2 separate regions of the Homo sapiens genome follow, and region 1 is linked to region 2. The links are contacts of gene promoters, found by promoter capture Hi-C in blood cells and fetal thymus (Javierre and others, 2016). All regions are on one chromosome and are shown on one strand. Each heading gives the region's core, a stretch centred on a gene start or on the middle of the fragment in contact. The rest is flanking DNA. Distances are from core to core; before and after follow the strand shown.

Region 1 (4,525 bases), core at 789-3,288, 2.9 Mb before region 2:
AAGACCCTGGCTCAAAAACAAGAAACAACTTACCTATCAACTGAAAATTCGCCTCCTTCACCCTTTTCTTCAAGTGGCTTTTCGAATCTTCGTTCACGAGGTGGTCGCCTTTCTGGTCTTCTATCAATTATTTTCCCTTCACCCTGAAGTTGTTGATCAGGTCTTCTTCCAACTCGTCTTATTCCTAAAACGATAAGATAACCTGCATAAGCAAATTATTTTTGCAATCCAAAAACTTTAGGCCTGGACTGTCAAAAGCTGCTTCTCTTCCAATCCACTACCATTTCCTGTTGGAAAAAAGCAAACACTGGGCAACTCTAATGTGTAACAAAGTACCTTAGGAAAACTGCCATTTAAAGACAATAAACCTTCCAATCCATACCACCGACTAAATACATAAATAAATAAAATAAAAACAATAAACTTATTTTAAACTTCTATTTAAGTTTGCCAAGTTCTCCCCCTCAAAAGCATTTTCTATAACTGACTTGGAAATCATTTGGGCAACCATTATTCCCGTCACTTTCCAAGATAGTCTCTTAATAAAAACTTTTAAATTTAAAAAATTTTAGGCAAGCAATACATTTTGGCTTTTAAAATACCAAAGAAAATACCAGCAGCCATTCATAAATAACCAAGCAAATCAACACACTCACTAGATATGGCCCCTCACAAAAGTGAGGGCCGCACTATGTTATTCTATCTAATCTGAAAAAAAAATGCAATTAAGACTCATAATTCTATAAAATTACAAATCTGAAAGGAAAATATGGCATTTAGGATTATTAGAGAACATCACTTCAGTTTAAAACAGCCATTTAACCAGAAAAAGTGTCATCTTTTGGTCTTCTTAGCTACAGGCACACAAAAAGGGCCATCTTCCCCTATTAAAGTTTAAAATTTTATAGCATGTAAGTGTATATATGTTTGTACACACTCCCACATCCCTAAGTACTTCCAAGTTAGGAAACAGTTACTTATTATGCATGGAGAGAGTCCTCTAAAAAATTTGCCCTAACAACTATCTTTATTTTCAAAGAATCTTTAAAAACCAAATACACACACGTTAAGACCGCTTTTAAGCAACATGTAAGAAATAAGAAAACTTGTGACACTAAGTGATAGCTGAAGCATTTACTAATTTCCCCCTTTACTACTTTTTTCCTGTAATGTCTGAAACCCCACAAAGGCAACCAATTTAAATTATTGGTGCCCATAAGGATCAACAGATTGATGGTTAAATTAATGACTTTAAGATTGTTGGTATGCTCTAATTCCCAATTTCTGACAAAGTCATAAAGCAGCTGAGGAATTGGTTTTACAAGATTTTAAGCTGCTTCACTTTGGTTCTTTCTAAGAAAGTAGAACACCATCAAGACACACCCAGTTGTTCTGCTGCCTGTTAACTGGAGCCAAACAGTAACTATCAATCTCTTCAATAGAATTTTGAAGTTCATTCCCTGTAAATACTCAAGATAGACTACAAATATTAGACCTTACACCAAGGTATTTAAATAAATGTCATCAGTAATAAAGTGCACTGGGGTGGAGTTATGGAACCAGTCCTTGCAATAATATCCAAGCCAAACACACCCAAGTGAACAATAGTTGGCGTCCCCACCCAATATCAAGTTTACAGAATCTTAAAAACGTATTAAACCTACCTAATGAAAAAGACTGACATTTAAAAATGCAAGCTTCTTTTGATATACTTATCTATAACTTGCAAGCTCACTAACTGCACTAGTTTCAAGGCATTCATTCTTTTTTAGAAAATCCCTGGTCTACACTCTCAATGACATTCTGCTGTCAATTCTCAAGTTCTTCAAATGGGCAAGAGAATGTACAAAATTAATTCATAAAACATAAACATTAAATATCTGTCTAAAGTATGTCAAGTATTATGTCACAATGTGTTATCAAAATCACAGAACACAATCAGGTTAACCTTCCTACTACATGCAGCGACTTTGTTTACAGATTTATTCCCAGTAATCAGGACAGTAGAATCTCAAAACGGGTATTGTCCATTCAACACTTTTCCTGTATTTTACATGCTTGTATTTTATGCAACTTAACAGTAGTGCTCTGAAATACTGACCTAAGGAAAATGCTGATTGCTAACATGGAATAGTTTTCCCATGGAAAGACTCATTGAACGGTGAACCTAAGTCTTGGTTCTAACTTCATGAAATCATTCCCCACATTTGTTAACTTAAAATACTACTTTTCAGGTAAGAGCTTATTTCATAGATGGGCTTCATGATCAAAATAACTCAGGCATTTAAACCATGCTTCATGTTTTGAACATTCAAAATGAGTGAACACATCTACCTGGTACACATTATTCGTCAGATTCAACTTTTTCGTGTACTTTCTTAAGCTTAAGCATAGTTTAAATAATTACACAAGTCAGCGTTACTTAACACACGAATTAAATGATTTATTTAATTGTGCTAGATTGCCATAAAGCTTAACTGGCTGAAGAGATACTTGGCCTAAGTGATATACATGCTTTCTAATACTCCAACTGTATTTTTCCTCAACCTATAATTTTACCACAAGAATTAATTATTTTCTTTTATTCACCACCTAGGACCGAGGTTCTTCATTCCGAGCCTCACAAAAGTCCTCAAAAAAAAAAAAAAAAACCCTCCTAAAACAAATCCTACCACGAGAAAATTGTTTTGATTTTTAAAATTAGTTCACTGTTACAGAATTCAACTAAAGCTAAAGAGAAACAACTCCTTTCAGAGAAGCACGTGGCAGGAAGGGGTAATTTCAACTTTCAACATATAAATGCAGCTTTAAAGATTCAGACCTTAGGTCCAACACCTGCTTGCTATTGATCATGCACGTTCTTATCTCCAAACTGCTTGCTCTTTTTTTTCATCCGCAACAAACTGGTAAAGCGAATGCAAAAATCAAGACAATCCTGTGAAACTCACAGTGCCCTAGAAACAACTATTAACCGCCAGTGAAACTCTGACCATGCTTCACGCACATGTGGTGGAAAAAAAAAACTGCGAACTCTAAAGAGCTCTGCTGCGACTAACGCTGTGACAGCCTCTGCACTCACTTCACCCACGAGGCCCAGACCCCACCACGTGAAAGATTCAGTTTGGGGAGTCGAGAGAGAGGATCGTGACTCGAGGACGTTCCTCGGGATGTCCTGCAATCACCAGTCTTCATTCATAATTCCCGCTCCTGGTTAATCGAGTGTGGCCAAACTCCTCCATTTCCCAACGGCTCAACTCACCCCAGCAAGTTATGAGAAAGTCCTAACAGTTGAGAGGTGGAAGAGAAACAAATAAAGGACATGCGGCACCCCAACCTGCAGCTTACTCCACACGTCTGATGGCCTGGAACGACCCCCTGCTTTTCAGCGGGGATACTCCGCGCCGTCGTGGGACAAGACGGCAGGACAGGAGCCTGAAACAACAGCACCTCAAAGGAGCAGCTCTGCGCAGTAAGCAGCGATGGACCCCCAAGCTCCTCCGTAACTACGGAAAGCTTCGGTGAGGGGCCGGCTTCCCCGCACCTCAGTCCATGCGCTCACCCGCCAAGGAATCCGGCGGGAAGGCAACAGCCTCCCAGGACCTCGAGCGCGCTCGAGGAGCAGCTCATCTCCGACCACGCTCCTCTGCTCACAACCTGAGGCGGGAAGGGGATGGCTCCGAGAACCTCGCCGGCGGTGGCTTGAACTTGGGGCTACCACGCTCCTGGCACCTTCGCAGGACCGGACTTTTGTCGCGTGAAGAAACGTGAGGATATAGGCGGCAAAGTCTCCCGCGGACCCTCGGAGCTCCAGAAACAAGTGGCAGCCGGCAGCCCCCTCGCTCCTTCCCTCCATCCCAGTCTCCCCCACATTCTGCCCCTGCTTTACCTTCTTTCTTAAGCGCCACGGGCGGCTGCGTCTCCTCTTTCTTGTCAACCACGCCAACGCTGGGGGGCAGCGGGTTCTTGCGGTCTTTCTGGGACTCCTTGCGCAGCTGTTTGCCTGCCGCGTTGGAGTTGGTCTGGGCCGCGGCCTGAGCTGCGCTCTTGGCCCCAGGGCCCCCAACGCCGCCCCCGCCGGCTTCTTTTTTCTTGTTCTCTGCTGCCTTCAGCACCTCGAAGGGGTCCGATTCGTCGTCAAATAACTGGTCGAATCGGTTGGTGACCACGCAGCCGAAGCCTTCCTGTAAGTGCCCAGGCATGATGGTGGCTCGGCGGCGCGTTCCTCCACGGATTGCAGCGGGCCGCGCCGAGCCAAGAGCGCCTGCTTCAGCTCTTCCCACAAGATGGCCGGGCCGAGAGAGGGGGGCCGTCTTCTCTTCCGGCGCCAGGCACACATCCGGGAGCGGCCTGCGCCGCAAGGCACTGTGGGGTATGTAGGCCAGAGTCATTTCTCCTGAGGCGACTCTCCGCGTCGGGACTACAATTCCCAGGACGCACCGCGCGACAACTCTTCGCGCGCGCCTGAGAGGCGAGACCCCATGAGGGGAGTGAAGCGTGCGGGCTGAAGGAAGGGAAGCGTGGTGGT
Region 2 (4,674 bases), core at 849-3,348:
AAACTTCCTCATAATAGACTAATAAACTGAAGCTACAACCCATCTCCCACTAACAACTGTTTTCCAAAGGGCTAGCATAGAATTACCATCATCAACAAACAACATTATCCTTGTACTATAATAGTAAAATGATTAAGTAATTTAAATGTAGGAAAGAAAAACTGGCTGCAACTTTAACATACTTTTTTGGGGATTTATGATAAATGATAGGTGGTGATTTTATTACAATTACAACATTGTAAATTCTGAAAACAAATGCAGTTGTTAGATAATTATACAGCCAAGAGAAATCTTACTCGTTTTTTTTATCTGAATTTTTGTCCTAAAAAGCCTACGATCCAATGGAATTAAGTGAGCTTATTTCACAGGCAAATATTTCATTGATACGTATATCATTTTGAGCACAAAGTTGGTTCAGTGTGTTCTAACTGAATGTATACAATTTTCATATTAATAGCAGAGCGATCAACAATATTTGCCAACTACCCAGTTTAAAACGGCTATTAAATGTTAAAATGTCAGTGTTCACATTAGTCTTCAATAATAAATTTACTGTTGCTTAAAAGTCAACTCAGTCACATTATTTTTTAGAATTAAACAAAAAATTCAGCTGACAAGGCAAAAAGAAATGGTCAATATTGACTAAGATAAAATTACCATAAAAATCATAATACTATTTTTAGTCACAGTCATCAAGATGAGACATTACTATTAGCAATTATCTACTTAAAACAAGCAAAAAATCAAATCTCTACTCAAACAAAAATCGGCTGTTGAGAAGTCACTTTAACTGTTCTACGTATCAAATACCAACAAATTTCTACTGTGTGGCTTTCAGAAATCTAACATTCTAAGTTTACTGAAAGCAGACAAAAAAGAAACAACCTGGTGGCAGGCAAAATCACAACCAGTTGCAGTCAAGATGGGATCTGTATGTGAGCAATGAAGGGAGGAGGGCAATTTATGCGTTCAAAATTTAAAATGCCAAGGTAGGGGGAAGAGAGAGAAATAAAGATATATAGCTCCATAAACAAAGGGAGAAAACCATGTTGGGTGGGAGGCAACCTAAAATTTCTGACAGTCCAGAATCAGCAAATCGAAGGCCTGTCTCAAACAAAACAGCTTCTCACGACAAACTTTGAAGTGGGCAAGGAGGATACATTCCTTTGCACCCACAAGAACCAACCCCTTGACCACTGGCACGCTATTACTGAGTCGATCATGATTTACCGAACGGCCCGGATGATGGGCAAAAAGAAGAGTCTGCTGGAGGGGGCCTAGGATTCCAGAAGCCTGGGGAGGCACACCCTAGGCTCGGGGAAGGAGAGAGGTGGAGAGGGGCTAGCACTCCTCACCGTGATTATCTTTCTGCCCGATATTGTGCGTGCGGATGAGAGAGGAGAGTCTCCTCACATCCCCCTTGAAGACGCACTCGTGCACCGGGTAGTGTGCGGGGCAACTGCCTCCATCCGCGACGACAGCAACGGGGTTGGTGCCGGCCAGAAGGGCCGGGGACTGGGAGTTGGCAGTCACGGAGGAATTGTGCAGCGGCAGAGCCGGGGCGCCGGGGGGATTGGAGGAGGCCGGAGCTGCCTTCAGCTGTAGCCGGTGGTGATGGTTACTGAAGATCTTATGACAAGCTTTGCCGCCCTTGCCAATCCTGCTTCTGGTAAAGGTACCGCCGAGGGCAGCCGCCGCTTCCTCATCCCCGGGCTCCAGCAGGTCCCCTTCTTCTTTGCTGGGCTTGTGGTCCCTCCGCAGTGAGCGGATCTTCTCCCCGGTCATCGCCGCCGCCAGGGGCAAGGGGGGGAATCGGGAGGCTCACCGCTGGCGACGGAGCTGGCGCTGCGGCGGCACAAGGCGATTAGAGCGGTGGCCAAGAGCCTCCAGCGCAGCATGAACTCCCACTGAGCCCCCGAGCCTGGGACAAACGCATCTCCCGGGGAAGAGCCGGCTCTCGCCTAGGCACGAAGGGACGCGCGCTCGCTGGGGGAAGCTAGAACTCAGGTGCCCACGACACCAGGATCTCAGTCTCGCCGTCGCAGCCGCCGTCGCTGCCTTACACCGAAAAACAGGGCACGGCCATCTTCCTCTTGCTCCTCTCGCGAGAGCTCCCCCAGGAGTGAAGAGAGAGAAAACACCGCGATAAGTGAGCCACCCGCTCCCTCCCTCGCACCTTCTATTCCCAGAATCACTAGGCGCCGGCGCCTCCGAGGCAGTGTGTTTCCGCCCAGAGCTGGAGTCTCCCAGCTGCCAGCCGACCCCGAACCCGCACTCCCGCCAACCGCGCTTTTTGTGGGCGGTCGGAAACCACAGCCTCCGTTGGATATGTTCGGTGCATGTTATAAACAACCACTTAAACCCTCCGGATCTGAGCCTCCCGCAGAGGAATGCAGAATGACGCCACGGCACGCAGGATGTGATGTCACCGAGATGCAGAGGATACTCAGTCAACCAACATTTACTGAGCATCTACTTCGTGCCGTATGTACGAAGCTAGCAAATATGTACAGCACCAGTACTGATTGCAGGGAGCACTGTAGAAGAGGAATGAAGGCCAAACAATTAAAAGCGGAGGCGGGGAGGTGGGTTGCACACAAAAAAGGGAGGGACGAATTTTAGTGTTGAGTTGTCAGGAAAGTCATAGAAGAGTTTAGGTGCTGACTTTGGAAAATGATGGGCTGTCCAGCAATCGGAAAGAGGGGAGGCCACTCAAATATTTATTAGATGAATGAATTTCGGGCAGATGTCAGAGTTAACATATATGAGGGTGGGGACACTCAAGGAGGGCAAAGAATCGTGTAACTGAAATATAATTGTATTAGTTCATGGCCAACCTCAACCTAGTGTCAAACTCTGAAGAAACGTAAATCTGCCAACCATAAAACTTTAACAAAGTAACTAAAGCTGGCCACTGAGGACGTAAGGAGGGGGCTTAGCAAAACATCCTAAAGATCTTCACCCATTTAACTCTCCAAAGTCCCCCTATGTTCTGAGAGCAAATACTTCAGATCTCTCTCTCTTTTTTTTGTTTTTTTGTTTTTTTGACAGAGTCTCTGTAGTCCAGGCTAGAGTGCAGTGGTGCAATCTCGGCTCACTGCGACCTCCACCTCCCAGGTCCAAGCGATTCTCCTGCCTCAGCCTCCAGAGTAGCTGGGATTATAGGCCTGCGCCACCACACCAAGCTAATTGTTGTATTTTTAGTAGAGACGGGGTTTCACCGTGTTGGCCAGGCTGGTCTTGAACCCCTGACCTCAGTGATCCGCCAGCCTCAGCCTCCCAAAGTGCTGGGATTACAGGCATGAGCCACTGCGCCCGGCCAGATCTCTTCTTTCTTAAAGTTTATACTACTGCTAACTCATCTCCGCAAACAAACAACTCGATGGGCCTCTCTTAATCCTCCCCAGTCACTCAACTTTTCACCTCCAATTTTCTTCTCAGTCTGTTCAGATAAATCTGTTTCTTCCTCTTCTTTCTTTTTCGGTGGAGTGGAGAGTTCCGTTTATGTTAAAACATTACCCAATCAACAGTTCAAAGCATCCTCTTGAGACAGCAGTAGAGACTGAAAAAATACATGCAATAATGTTTGCTTCTTCCACAATAGCCAATATTTATTGTTAACGCTAAGCCAGGCAGTATGCTTGGCACTTTATATGCTGTTATCTCCCCCTGATTAGCATTAGTATCCTCACTTGACAGTTAAAAAAAACTTGCCCAATACTTCAATGCTAGAATGTGGTACAGTCAAATCTGACAGTAAGGCTAGAGAGAGAGGAAGGGCCAGGTCATGCAGGGCTTTGTATGTCATCTTAAAAGTTTACACTTGGCCGGGCGCGGTGGCTTATGCCTGTAATTCCAGCACTTTGGGAGGCTGAGGCGGGCAGATCACGAGGTCAGGAGTTCGAGACCAGCCTGGCCAATATGGTGAAACCCTGTCTTTACTAAAAATACAAAAATTAGCTGGGCGTGGTGGCTTGTGCCCGTACTCGCAGCTACTCGAGAGGCTGAGGCAGAAGAATCGCTTGAACCCAGGAGGCGGGGGCTGCAGTGAGCTGAGATTGTGCCCCTGCACTCCAGCCTGGGGACAGAGTGAGACTCTGTCCAAAAAAAAAAAGGAATAGTCTTTTTAGAGATCTTTAAACAGGGAATAGCATAATGCAATCACCTTTATAGAAAATTCAGTGACTCAGGCCGAACGCAGTGGCTCATGCCTGTAATCCCAGCACTTTGGAAGGCTGAGGCGGGTGGATCACTTGAGGTCAGGAGTTCAAACCAGCCTGGGCAACATGGTGAAACCCTGTCTCTACTAAAAATACAAAAATTAGCCGGGCATGATGGTGGGTGCCTGTAGTCCCAACTACTCGGGAGGCTGAGGCAGGAGAATCGGTTGAACCTGGGAGGTGGAGGTTGCAGTGAGCCAAGATCGTGTAATTGCACTCCAGCCTGGGTGACAAGAGCAAAACTTGGTCTCAAAAAAAAAAAAAAATTAAAAAAAAGAAAATTCAGTCACTCATACTTTAGAGAAGTATGCATCAAGAACAGAACTTTAAAGAAGTATGCAGTAAATCAGATGATGAGAGCATGAACCAAGTTAGTAAGAGTGAGGCAGAAAAAGGTTTAAGAGGTTTTTAAAAATGAGTTCAATCTTAGCATATTGAGTTGAAAGTTGCTTAT

The links. Contacts are between HindIII fragments. The CHiCAGO score rates a contact against its expected background, and 5 or more counts as called.
Region 1: a contact is called between a fragment that was not itself captured here and the fragment with the promoter of ANKRD13C in region 2, in 3 of 17 cell types (total B cells, naive CD8 T cells and non-activated CD4 T cells). The highest score is 7.4, in total B cells.

Annotation. Positions count from the first base shown.
Region 1 is chr1:67,426,102-67,430,626 of GRCh38, forward strand. It overlaps SERBP1 (SERPINE1 mRNA binding protein 1), which reads right to left and starts at 4,301. Exons shown (of 8, transcript NM_001018069.2): 1 at 3,887-4,301; 2 at 34-184. The coding sequence starts at 4,199. RefSeq lists enhancers at 2,838-3,474, 4,110-4,525, 4,183-4,452. The HindIII fragment of the contact is 686 bases long and covers 1,696-2,381 here.
Region 2 is chr1:70,352,624-70,357,297 of GRCh38, forward strand. ANKRD13C (ankyrin repeat domain 13C) reads right to left here and starts at 2,099. Exons shown (of 13, transcript NM_030816.5): 1 at 1,356-2,099. The coding sequence starts at 1,785. It overlaps ANKRD13C-DT (ANKRD13C divergent transcript), which reads left to right and starts at 2,188. Exons shown (of 4, transcript NR_168352.1): 1 at 2,188-2,585. RefSeq lists enhancers at 506-1,705, 965-1,883, 1,839-1,888, 1,884-2,801, 1,929-1,988 and 3 more. The HindIII fragment of the contact is 4,699 bases long and covers 1,639-4,674 here.